Regions from separate parts of the Homo sapiens genome. Here all the other regions are linked to region 1. Evidence: promoter capture Hi-C in 16 types of primary human blood cells and fetal thymus (Javierre and others, 2016). All regions are on one chromosome and are shown on one strand. Each heading gives the region's core, a stretch centred on a gene start or on the middle of the fragment in contact. The rest is flanking DNA. Distances are from core to core; before and after follow the strand shown. Region 1 holds the start of EIF1AD (eukaryotic translation initiation factor 1A domain containing). Region 2 holds the start of SIPA1 (signal-induced proliferation-associated 1). Region 3 overlaps MAP3K11 (mitogen-activated protein kinase kinase kinase 11).

Evidence for each region. Contacts are between HindIII fragments. The CHiCAGO score rates a contact against its expected background, and 5 or more counts as called.
Region 2: the fragment with the promoter of SIPA1 here is called in contact with the fragment with the promoter of EIF1AD in region 1 in 8 of 17 cell types (endothelial precursors, total B cells, erythroblasts and 5 more); the score reaches 7.2 in endothelial precursors.
Region 3: a contact is called between a fragment that was not itself captured here and the fragment with the promoter of EIF1AD in region 1, in 8 of 17 cell types (naive B cells, total B cells, total CD4 T cells and 5 more). The highest score is 10.0, in naive B cells.

Annotation. Positions count from the first base shown.
Region 1 is chr11:66,000,900-66,004,705 of GRCh38, forward strand. It overlaps EIF1AD (eukaryotic translation initiation factor 1A domain containing), which reads right to left and starts at 1,258. Exons shown (of 6, transcript NM_001242481.2): 1 at 1,011-1,258. BANF1 (barrier to autointegration nuclear assembly factor 1) reads left to right here and starts at 1,604. Exons shown (of 3, transcript NM_003860.4): 1 at 1,604-1,671; 2 at 2,336-2,474; 3 at 2,727-3,250. The coding sequence starts at 2,352. The coding sequence ends at 2,873. RefSeq lists enhancers at 956-1,325, 2,333-3,139 and a silencer at 1,626-1,965. The HindIII fragment of the contact is 20,996 bases long and covers 1-3,806 here.
Region 2 is chr11:65,636,851-65,641,004 of GRCh38, forward strand. SIPA1 (signal-induced proliferation-associated 1) reads left to right here and starts at 1,251. Exons shown (of 16, transcript NM_006747.4): 1 at 1,251-1,332; 2 at 3,981-4,154. The coding sequence starts at 4,072. It overlaps PCNX3 (pecanex 3), which reads left to right. Exons shown (of 35, transcript NM_032223.4): 35 at 1-589. The coding sequence ends at 128. RefSeq lists enhancers at 72-862, 1,814-1,883 and a silencer at 1,094-1,463. The HindIII fragment of the contact is 3,649 bases long and covers 1-1,908 here.
Region 3 is chr11:65,600,994-65,604,956 of GRCh38, forward strand. All of the region lies in intron 8 of MAP3K11 (mitogen-activated protein kinase kinase kinase 11), which reads right to left. Among named protein-coding and RNA genes, the nearest start is that of KCNK7, 7.2 kb to the left of the region's middle. The HindIII fragment of the contact is 152 bases long and covers 2,276-2,427 here.

The sequences.
Region 1 (3,806 bases), core at 8-2,507:
GTAAAACTTTTTGTTCTGTTAGCTGATGTATGTAGCCCCCAGTCACGTTTCTCACGCTTACTTGATCTATTATGACTTTTTCACGTAGACCCCTTAGAGTTGTAAGCCCTTAAAAGGGCTAGGAATTTCTTTTTCGGGGAGCTCGGCTCTTAAGACACGAGTCTGCCGACGCTCCCGGCCGAATAAAAAAACCTCTTCCTTCTTTAATCTGGTGTCTGAGGAGTTCTGTCTGCGACTCGTCCTGCTACAACAGAATGGGACAATACAATGCATGTCATGTAAAAGTAACTCCGGCCGGGCGCGGTGGCTCACGCCTGTAATCCCAGCACTTTGGGAGGCCGAGGTGGGCGGATCACGATGTCAGGAGATCGAGACCATCCTGGCTAATACGGTGAAACCCTCTCTCTACAAAAATACAAAAAATTAGCCGGGCGTGATGACGAGCGCCTGTAGTCCCAGCTACCCGGGAGGCTGAGGCAGGAGAATGGCGTGAACCCGGGAGGCGGAGCTTGCAGTGAGCCGAGATCGCGCCACTGCACTCCAGCCTGGGCGACAGAGCAAGACTCCGTCTCAAAAAAAAAAAAAAAAAAAAAGTAACTCCTATAATCTTAAGTACTAGTGTAATATAAAACTATACGCATGCTCCAGAGAAGTCATCCTGGCAACCTCTCTGGAAGGAGTTTGAAATAAACCGTATCTTTCTCAACACGCTTGTACACCCCAAGTCTAGCATAGTCACACAACAGAGAAGTTCAGTCTGGCAACACACTACAGCCGGAGACAAACTAGGTGGCCACCGTGATGGTTCAAGCCAGGAACTAGTTAATTAAAGGTTGAGGTGAGCAGGCTTGTCTGCGACATTTGCATATTTCTGACTTGCGTACTTAGAAGACGAAGGCCAGTACCCTTAAGACTGATGGTTTCCGAAAGAAACACTGTCGTCTCTAGTTGCTGTCCTCCTTCCTCCTCCCTGTCTATCCCGGAGAAAAGACCCTCAGAGAAACACCCACACTTAGTCTCTGGCCCTCGGCTCCCAGGAACGCTGCCGGAGCAACACCGCCGTCTAGGCTGGACGCTGAGAGAGGATCGTCCACGACTCACTTCAAGGCTGAACCAAGAAAACACAGTAAAGGAACTTGCCGGCGGCCGCGACGGTAGCGTCAGTTAGAAATCAGGTCTCCAGTGTTCCCAGTTCCCACCAGTCCAACTGCGAGGAGTGCGACGTGAGTCTGAGTCTGATCCCTCCGAAAACCGTACTTCCGGCGCTGTCTCGGAGGCCTCCCGTCCCCTCCCTTGTCCGTCTTCTAACTCTTCCCCACGCCAGGTCCGTCAAGCCTAAGTCCTTGAGTTCCGGGTCCGGGCAGCAGAGAAAGGAAGTCCTCTCCCTGGAGGCCTATCTCCCTCAGAACTGCGCGAGAAGCGAGACCTTAGAAGGCAGGGCTTCCCGCGAAGGACCGGAAAGGAGCGCCTACTAAGGACGCCGTCGAGGTCCGGGGCGCCTCAACTCTATAGCTCTAACTGGCTAGAAGTGCCCAACGTGGAATGTTTCTTTTTTAAAGGCGGCTCTTGAAGCGACCCGGAAGCGGAAGTGGAAGAAAGTTCTAGTGGCTTGAGGTATCCGCAGGAGCGGCCGGGTGGCGGGAGGAACCGTTACGGGAACTGAAGTTGCGGGTGAGCGCCAGCCGCGGAGCAGGGCCCTGATTGGAGGCCAGAGGGGTTGCGGGGAGAAGGGGAGGAGAGGGGTCGCAGGCGCTGTGGCGGGCCCTGGGGGAGAGCTTGGCCGCGCTGCGGGGAGGGGGCGGGGTGCAGCGCGTGGGAGCCGGGCCGCGGGAAGGGGCGGGCCGCAGCGGCGCGCGGTGGGGGCGGAGCTGGGGCGCGGCGTGAACCCCGCGGGCGGGGAGCGGGTGTGCGCAGCGCTAGGTGTGCGCTTCGCCCTGTAGGTAGAGAGACCCTTTGGTTAGCTTTCCACGCCAAGTGGCCGTTCCAGGCAGGCAGTGTCGTCTTGGTTCAGCCAAGGTCACAGAGGGAGTGATAGCTTCCGCGCAGCCCTGGCTACGGACTCTGGGCATCTTTCCACTGCCCCGCTTGCGCCACCTGTTAGGCAGGATCGTTTTTCCTCTGGGGCAAGATCAAAATCCAGGTCCTGCAGGAAGAAACTCCTCTTAAAAATAGTAGGGAAGAGTCTCCCTGGAACTGTTTTCTCCTTTCAGGATGAGGGGGATCGAGCAAGCCACTGTAACCCCTGGCTTGGCTTCCTCTTACTATGAGATTGCTCGTGGGCCCTTAGAAGTTCCAGGTCTTCAGCCCTAATCTGCCTTTTTTTTGGGATTCCTAGATTAAGCCTGATCAAGATGACAACCTCCCAAAAGCACCGAGACTTCGTGGCAGAGCCCATGGGGGAGAAGCCAGTGGGGAGCCTGGCTGGGATTGGTGAAGTCCTGGGCAAGAAGCTGGAGGAAAGGGGTTTTGACAAGGTGTGGGGTGGCTGCGTGTACCTAGTGCAAGCGGGGGGTGGAAGGGAAGTGATTCCATCTGCTGGGGGATGGACAGTAAGGTATAATCTGAAGAGGCTGCCAGAGCCTGGGCACCTGGTGGAGAGGAGAGGGGGGCAAAACCCGCGCTGCTTCCTGGGCTTGTGTGCTCTGAATGGCACAGGAATGGCTGTCTTGCTCTTATCTCTCACTGAGCACTGAGCAGCACGCTCCTTCCTTTTCCCTGTTTTGCAGGCCTATGTTGTCCTTGGCCAGTTTCTGGTGCTAAAGAAAGATGAAGACCTCTTCCGGGAATGGCTGAAAGACACTTGTGGCGCCAACGCCAAGCAGTCCCGGGACTGCTTCGGATGCCTTCGAGAGTGGTGCGACGCCTTCTTGTGATGCTCTCTGGGAAGCTCTCAATCCCCAGCCCTCATCCAGAGTTTGCAGCCGAGTAGGGACTCCTCCCCTGTCCTCTACGAAGGAAAAGATTGCTATTGTCGTACTCACCTCCGACGTACTCCGGGGTCTTTTGGGAGTTTTCTCCCCTAACCATTTCAACTTTTTTTTGGATTCTCGCTCTTGCATGCCTCCCCCGTCCTTTTTCCCTTGCCAGTTCCCTGGTGACAGTTACCAGCTTTCCTGAATGGATTCCCGGCCCCATCCCTCACCCCCACCCTCACTTTCAATCCGTTTGATACCATTTGGCTCCTTTTTTGGCAGAACAGTCACTGTCCTTGTAAAGTTTTTTAGATCAATAAAGTCAGTGGCTTTCATGACTGGGCTTTGTGCACTGAAAAGCAAGTGGGCTGGGAGTTGCCTCTCCTTCAGGGACTGACCATGTTTCCCTCACTCCTTATCAGTAGAGACCGAAACTGGCAGCTTCCCTTCCACTCCCAGAGGGCAGCCACCCTAGCCATGTAGGCCTCAGGCAGGTGACTTTTGTCTCAATCCCCGAGTGATGTGGGAGAGGGTGTGGGTGGATCTTTTCCTGGGAGCCAGATGGACTGTGCTCCAGATGTCAGTTAAGTCAACAGCTGGGCTAGGCAGCACCTGGTGGAAAAGTCAGTGGGAGTCAGAGGTACCAGACAGGGTGGGCCGGATGTGGGTGAGAGTTCACCTGCCAGTCATCATCTGCTCTCCCGGCCTCTGTAAGGGTGGGCAGGGTGCTTGCCATCTTCCATGATCTCTTAGGGAGGAGAAGGAGCACAGGCATCACAGCTGGAAGGATGTGAGGGGAGTACACCTCAGTACATTTTAGTCCTGTTCTTTTTGTTTACTTTTTAACTTAATAGGGACAGGGCCCTGCTCTGTTGCCCATGCTGGCCTTAAGCG
Region 2 (4,154 bases), core at 1-2,500, 360 kb before region 1:
ACATTCCTTGCTTGGACAGCAGTGCCCCTGAGAGTGGCACACCTATGGGTGCCCTGGGCGACTGGCCTGCCCCTATTGAGGAGCGTGAGAGCCCGGCAGCCCAGCCCCTGCTGGAACACCAGTACTGAGCTACCTGGCGCCCACTGGACCACCTCCTAGGATTCAGTAACGGACCTGCTCTGCTGCCTCTCTGCTGGACCACAGAACTGAGTGGCTTTGGCCTACATGTCTGAACCCTGACCTTTGGCTGCCTTGGCCAGAGTACCAAAACTGAGTGACCCAGACCTCTGACCTTGACCCCTGATCTCTCTCATCCCCAGTCCAGGGCCTGGGCTCCCCAGATGGAGGCAGTCAGCCTCCCAGCCAGGCCCTAAGAGCCAAACCATGGGCTGGTCCCACTTGGAGCCTGTGGCCAGGACCACCTCAGCCCCTGGGCCTGCACTGCCTGCAGGTGTGGCCCCCTTGGCCTGGACCTGGGGCCTGAATTGTGGGAAGGGTGGTTTCTTTCTTTCCTTTTTTTTCTTTTCTTTTTTTTTTTTTTTTTTGTGCTTCGGAGACATCAGAATTAATAACACTATTTTTGATTTTGGTTGGCAGTTTCTTTTTCTACCTGGGAATGGGTACATGATAGTACAGGCGGCTAAGTTGGGATGGACAAGCACGCAGAGGGGTGAAGGATGTGGGGCTGAAGTCTAGTAGAGATCAAGGGCAGACCAAGGTGGGGTTCAGGTAGAACCGGGTCCTCTTCACCGCATGGCTGCTCCCTTTTCAAGCCTTTATCTGAAGGGTATTGTCTGCCATTTCCCACCATATGGTCAGACTTCCAGGTCTGGTGGCTCCTACATTTATCAGGCTTGTTCTTGGCCAAAGCCTTTCTCTGCACCTCAGCTGCTCCAGGGCGTAAAGAGATGACACCTATCTAAGGTGTTTTTAGAATAAATGAGAGCGCGCTAGTGGAATGGTTGCCCAGGGCCCAGTGCTTAGCAAGTGCTCCATAAAATAGTGGCAGACTCTTGAGCACCTGCTGGCCGGGAGCTGGACGCTAGGTGGCCTCCGCTAGCCCTCCCGGTTGGTCTGGAAGGCAGGCACAAGTTTCTCAGGAGAGGAAATGGCCTTAGAATGAGCACTGCTCGGTGCTGACCTCCGCCAGGCCTGGAATCCCCGCTGCTGCGCTTCCCGCCGCAGACAGCTCCCGGCCGGCCCCGCCTCCCGGCATGGCCCCGCCTCCCAGCATGGCCCCGCCCCCAGGCGGAGCCGGCGCCGGGAGCGGTAGCGGGAGAGCGGCAGCGGGACCCCAGCGCGGGCGGCGGCGGCTGGGCGGGAGCCCCAGAGGTACTGGCGGGAGCAGGGGACGGGAGGCACTACTGTCGGGCCCGACAGGGGAGAGGTGGCCTAGCCGTGGGCCCGGGTGATGTGTATGGGAGTGGGGTCCTCGCCACGTTCGCCGCCAGCACCCTCCCAACTTCCCTCCGGGCTCCAGCTCAGTCCCGAGTCAATATGTCCAGCCCCCTGTCTCTGACCAGCCGTTCCTACTCTCTCTGTGTGACGGCTTAGCCTGGCCAGCCAGCCGGTGAGTGGAAGCGGCGGCTCCTGACTCCTGGTGGCGGCACTGTGACCCCCTCCCCCTCAACACTGCAAGTGTGTGCGGGGCTCCCCCTTATTCTGAGGCTCCTCTTCTTCTTAGGCGGCCTCCACCCCAGTCCCTGGCCTGGCCTGGGAGGAAACATCTGTCGCGCCCCCTGGCAGCCGAAATGGGGTCATGACCTCCAGATGTGCTGGGAAGTGGCCAGCTCCTCCTCCTGGGGCAGCCAGGCCTTCCGGATCTGTGGGGGCGGGGCCGGCCCTTTCCCCCCACCCCTAGTGACACAGGCCCGGAGGAATGTCCTAGCCTCAATGGACCCTGTGTGAAGCTTCAGGGTGGGGGGCAGAGCCCGAGAACACCCCTCAAGGCAGCGCCAGAGCCTGGCACTGGGCCACAGCAAGAGGCAGCGCACAGGCTGGGTGCACACATGCACAGATCTCACTTCCAAGCGTGCAGAGCTCAGCCCACAAGGAGCGGGGCTTGCACAGACCCCCTCCCTCATGCCCTCCTACTCCTTCACACACTATAGCCCAGGCCCGAGCGCTGAATGTGCCCAGAGCTTGGCTCATGGAGCCAGGGGCTACACCCGTCACACACACACATAGCTAGCGACACTCACCTCATTCTTCTCAGTCTCTCAGCAGCCTTGGGAGGGGACAGAAATAATTAAACCCAATTTTTTTCTTTGTTTTTTTGGAGACAGTCTCACTCTGTCCCGCAGGCTGGAGTTCAGTGGCGCGATCTCGGCTCACTGCAACCTCTGCCTCCCAGGTTTAAGCGATTCTCCTGCCTCAGCCTCCTGAGTGGCTGGGACTACAGGTGCGCACCACCACACCCGGCTAATTTTTATGTTTTTAGTAGAGACAGGGTTTCACCATGTTAGCTAGGCTGGTCTTGAACTCCTGACCTCAGGTGATCCCCCCGCCTTGGCCTCCCAAAGTGCTGGGATTACAGGCCACAGCCACCGCACCCGGCCAGTTAACCCCATTTTAGAGATGAGAAAACAGAGGCTCAAGGTCAGCATGGGAGTTTATTCAGGAGAAATCAAGGTAGAAGCACCTGGGCTGGGGAGCCGACTCTTGCTTGGTTCTGGAGGCCCCAGACGAAGGGTGTGTGGAGCCCCTCCTCCACCCCCCTCCGGCCCAGCCCCGCATGATGTTGCTGGATGCTGCATGAAGACCCACCATTAGATGCCTGTACCCCCAGTGGAGGTTCCCCAGCTCCCTGTCCTCACTGCCTACTCCATCCAGGGCTTGCCTGGGTGTGGCTTCCCTCAAGTTCTCACACCACCATTTGCACCTGCCTCTGGCGTCACGTTTCCGCACTTAGCAGGTCCCTGGGGCTTTGGGTGTCTCAATCTTGCATCCTGTGAGACCTTGAACCTCAGCCCAACACCCACCCCCCAAAACCTACGCACACAGACAGCAGTGGGCAGGTGCAGCCCTGCTTAGGGCCTGGAGATGGGCAGACCCAGGCTCACATCCTAGCTCTGACACGGAATTGCTTCAGGCAAGAGCATCTCCTCTGGACCTCATCTGACCATCTGTCACATGGGGTTCAGACCTCCCTGTCTGCATCAGTGAGACCAGGTAGGCAGAGGTCCCTATGGGTCCCTGTCATTGTGACTCCTCTTGCCCCCAAGCCTGGGCACAGTAGCCTGCAAGAAGGTGAGTTGGCCTGTCCTTCAGGGCAGGGTGACTGGGGTCCCATGACAGCTGCTGTGACCCCAGCACCTTCCTCAGGATGTGGGGGCCTGGCAGAGGGCTGGGCCCACAGTTGGGGCTACTTCCTGTGCTGAAGGAAGTCCTCTTGCCATTCCTGCTGCCCTGCCGCTGCCTCCCTGGGAACCCATGTGTCCTTGTGGTATTGAGGCCTTGAGGTCCAGGGCACTGAGATCAGACCTCTCTGGGTGATCAGCTCTCCAGGGACCCTGAAGGAAGTGGGAGGGGCAAGGAGGAAGGTCTCTGGGGACAGGACGTCCTCCCTTTGTTAAGTGGGCAGGACCCAGACACCAGTGGCCCCTGGGTTTCCCGTCCCAGCCAATACAAGTCATCTGTCCGGTTGGGCTAGGTCCTGGTGGGACCCTTACTCTGGGCCCAGGCCAAAGCTAAGGTGTGTGGGTGGCGACTGGGGGACCCTGGCAGTCCCAGGGCTGCCCAGGCTCCAGGACCCTCAGGACCAAGACCCAACAGCCCAGCCTCTAGCCTTGCCCAGCTAAGCTGGGGAGGGGGCTGGAAACTTTAGCCCTAGGCAGACAAGGAAGTGGCCTGGAAAGCGGAAGCAGCTTTGATGGTCTCGGAGGGGGCCGGAAGCCAACACGGGTGGTGGAGGACCAGGCTGGGGGCCTGGGTTCCTGTTTTCTGCCCAGGCCCCTCTGAGCAGCCCCCTCCTCCTTCAGGGCAGGAACTGCTGCCACAACCTCAGGCTGGGCACCAAACACCCGTGCCCGCCAATGCGGCCCAGCCCCCGGAGAGTCAGGCCCACAGAGCATGCCCATGTGGGCCGGCGGTGTGGGGAGCCCTCGGCGGGGCATGGCCCCTGCGTCCACAGATGACCTCTTTGCCCGCAAGCT
Region 3 (3,963 bases), core at 1,102-3,601, 400 kb before region 1:
ACAAGGGAATCCTTCTAAAATGCAAACCTGTTAAAGACAGGTCTCTGCTTAAAAACTACCCATCACTTCCAGCTTCATTCACTCATTCATTCAATCAACATCTACTGACCCATGTGCCTTGGCCCCTGTCCGCAGCCCCAGTCCTGAGACTCCTCGGCTCTCAACTCTTCTCGGAGTTCAGCCAGGTTGCCTTTTCCTTGGGTATGGTGAGCTGCATGCCTGCGCACACACTATTCACTCTGGGTGGCTGACCTTTCCCACCTTGGCTTTCAGTGACCTCTTATGCACCATCCAAGACCAACTGGGATGTCACTTCCTCTGTGAAGCCCTCCCAGAATCTCCCTGAACCTACACAGTTATTGCTCACGTTATGCCTCATAGAGGTGCTACTGGACTTGTTTATGAGTCTGCCTGCTTCATCATATGAGGTCAGGGCAGTGTTTAACATGTTGATGCCTGGCTCTTAAAATGCAAATCCCTGGGCCAGGCGCGGTGGCTCACATCTGCAATCCCAGCACTTTGGGAGGCCCAGGTGGGATGATCACGAGGTCAGGAGATCGAGACCATCCTGGCTAACACGGTGAAACCCTGTCTCTACTAAAAACACAAAAAATTAGCCAGGCGTGGTGGTGGGCGCCTGTAGTCCCAGATACTCAAGAGGCTGAGGCAGGAGAATGGCATGAACCCAGGAGGCGGAGCTTGCAGTGAGCCAAAATCACACCACTGCACTCCAGCCTGGGCAACAGAGCGAGACTCCGTCTCAAAAAAAAAAAAAAGCAAATTCTTGTTTGATGAAGAATCCATTTTTATAATCCTTGCACCAACCACGAGGTTATCATATCACCCCCACTTCGCAGGTGAAGAACTGATCATTTACAGTGAGTTTAAACAGAAGAGGGGAAATCATGTTTAAAAAAAAGAAAGAGTTGGCCGGGTGCGGTGGCTCACACCTGTAATCCCAGCACTTTGGGAGGCCAAGGTGGGCGGATCACGAGGTCAAGAAATCGAGACCATCCTGGCCAACATGGTGAAACCCTGTCTCTACTAAAAAATACAAAAATTAGCAGGGCATGGTGGCACGCACCTGTAGTCTCAGCTACTTGGGAGGCTGAGGCAGGAGAATCGCTTGAACCCAGGAGGCGGAGGTTACAGTGAGCCGAGATCCCGCCACTGCGCTCCAGCCTGGGTGACAGAGTGAGACTCCATCTCAAAAAAAAAAAAAAAAAAAGCAAGAGAGGCTGGGAGTGGTGGCTCAAGCCTATAATCCCAGCACTTTGGGAGGCCAAGTAGGGCAGATCACTTGAGGTCAGGAGTGCATGACTAGCCTGGCCAACATGGTCAAACCCTGTCTCTACTAAATACAAAAATTAGGCCGGGCATGGTGGTTCACGCTTGTAATCCCAGCACTTTGGGAAGCTGAAGCAGGTGGCTCACTTGAGGTCAGGAGTTCGGGACCAGCCTGGTCAACATGGTGAAACCTCATCTCTACTACAAATACAAACATTAGCCGGGCATTGTGGCACATGCCTGTAATCCCTGCTACTTGGGAGGCTGAGGCAGGAGAATCACTTGAACCTGGGAGGTGGAGGTTGTAGTGAGCCGAGATTGCACCACTGCCCTCCAGCCTGGGCAACAGAATGACACTTCATCTCAAAAAAAAAAAAATTAGCTGGGCATGGTGGCACATGCCTGTAATCCCAGCTACTGGGGAGGCTGAGGGAGAATTGCTTGAACGTGGGAGGTGGAGGCTGAAGTGAGCTGAGGTCGCACCACTGCACTCCAGCCTGGGTGACAGAACAAGACTCCTTCTAAAAAAAAAAAAAGAAAATAGCAAGAGCAAGCTGGGTGTGGTGGCTCACACCTGTAATGCCAGCACTTTGGGAGGCTGGGGTGGGTGGACTACTTAAGCGCAGCCCAGCCTGGGCAACATGGCAAAACCCCATCTCTACAAAAAATATAAAAATTAGCCAAGCATGGCATGCACCTGTAGTCCCTGCTACTCAGGAAGCTGAGGTGGGAGGATCACTTGAGCCTGGGAGGCAGAGTTTGCAGTGAGCCATGATCATGCCATTGCAGTCCAGCCTGGGTAACAGAATGAGACTCTATCTTTAAAAAAATAAAAGACAGAAATGAGACAAAGGGAAGAGAAGATAGGGTCCAGCAGACAAAATGAGAGTGAACAGAAGTTCCTGCAGTCAATGGCCTGAGAAACTGAGGTTCTGAAGGGTAAGGGACTTGGTCAACATAATCCAGCTAGGATTTGAATCTGCCTCTAAGCTTCCTGGCAGCAAGAGTTAGCAACTCTGTTGTTTAGGAGAAAGCTGCGTGACTATTCTTGACCCAAAGATAGATAGATAGAGGCGAAACTGCTTCCGTGAGGTCTCACAGGGAGGACACAGCCACGTAGTTATTGGCTCTAAGGCAACAAGCTTCACAGGGCAGTTGCTATCAGCGTAGCTGAGTGCACCCTGCCAATGTGCCACTCCTTGCAGCCAGCTCTCCAGGGACCAGAACAGCCCACTGGGGACAGGGTGAGGGTGTGTGTGACTCTCCAGTGGTATGGCTTATGCCGGGGACCATCTCACAGGGTCTGGGACCTCTGTGAAGCCCCATTATTTGATTCTTAGCTGGGTTTCGGGGGGTGGCTGTGAGGTCAATGTCATGTACTTTCATGGACCCAGATGATGCGTGGAGTGTGGGATTGGGCTAGGGGAACCAGATGCTCAGCCAGCCACTGAGCTGGGCAGCTGACATCCTTTCAGGGCAAGTGGCAATCCATTTCTTCATCAGCCAGGAAGGGCACTGGTGTTGAGGCCGACATACTTATCAAGAACAGTAACTACCATGGTTTCCAGTGCTTTCATGAAACCTCAGACATGTGGCCTTCTGGCCACACATCTGCAATTTCATATTGTGGGAGCATTCACTGTATCCCTGGGGGCTGCGGCTCTCTCAGTTTGCAGGGGCTGGACCAAGAAAGAAGGCATTTCAGATTTCTATGGGCACAGATGTCTACAGAAGTTATGATGCCATGAAATACTTCGAGGAGATGAGGAAGGCTGCTATCTCTCAGAATGCAAAGTGATTTTGGAATATGAAGAATTTCTTTGGGTTGAATTACTTAGAAGTTTGTCACTGATCTGAACTATTCATGAATATATGGGCTAATAAGTAGTTTCTCTTCATAAATAATTAACAAATTCTTTGGATAAAAAAACATGGGGCAAGCTTGAGAACGATGGGGCCCAGGCCCCTTGTGCCCCTGCTTCTGGGAGCTGAGGGCCAGAGAGTTCTGTGGAACAGTCAGGACCTGCTTCAGCCTACACACCTGGGTTGACAGGCTCTCAAGTTCTCCTTTGGCCCATCTGGCCTGGTACAATTTAGAGCAAGTGAATTCAAGAAGCCTCCTTGGCCTTCCAGCTCTCAGTTCAGTCCCTGCAGGACAGATGCTGGGGGCAGTGCAGCTGCTGGAGTAGCAAATGGCGGGGCAGATGGAGGCCCAGGGCTCTGCCTCTGTGGTCAGACAGGCAAGAGCAGATCAAATCCCTGCTCTACTGGTTGCCTTACATCAAACCACTTAATCTCTCTGTGCCTCAGTTTTCTCTGTTGTAAAATGCAGGCCAATACTACTACTCCCCTCACAGAACTGCTTGGCACATAGAAGAGAACCAACAAAGGTTAGCTGTTGTTACAACTATCAAGTGTAGCTCAGGGAATGGAAGAGGCGATGGGCTGGGTGGGATGGGAGGAGTGAGTTTAAACGGCTTGCTGAACAGGACTCTTCTGAGAGCAGCTAAGCGGGTCCTACATTCTGGCTGTGAGCAGCAGGTGTGGGGGCTCTGAGGATGGTCCCTAGGTTGGCACAGGGACCCACAGGCAAGGGAGGCCATAACTCTCTGGCCTCACTCAGAGCTGGGCAGTGTTGAGCTGAGTGAGCCCTCCTCCCTGCAATGCTGGAGCCCT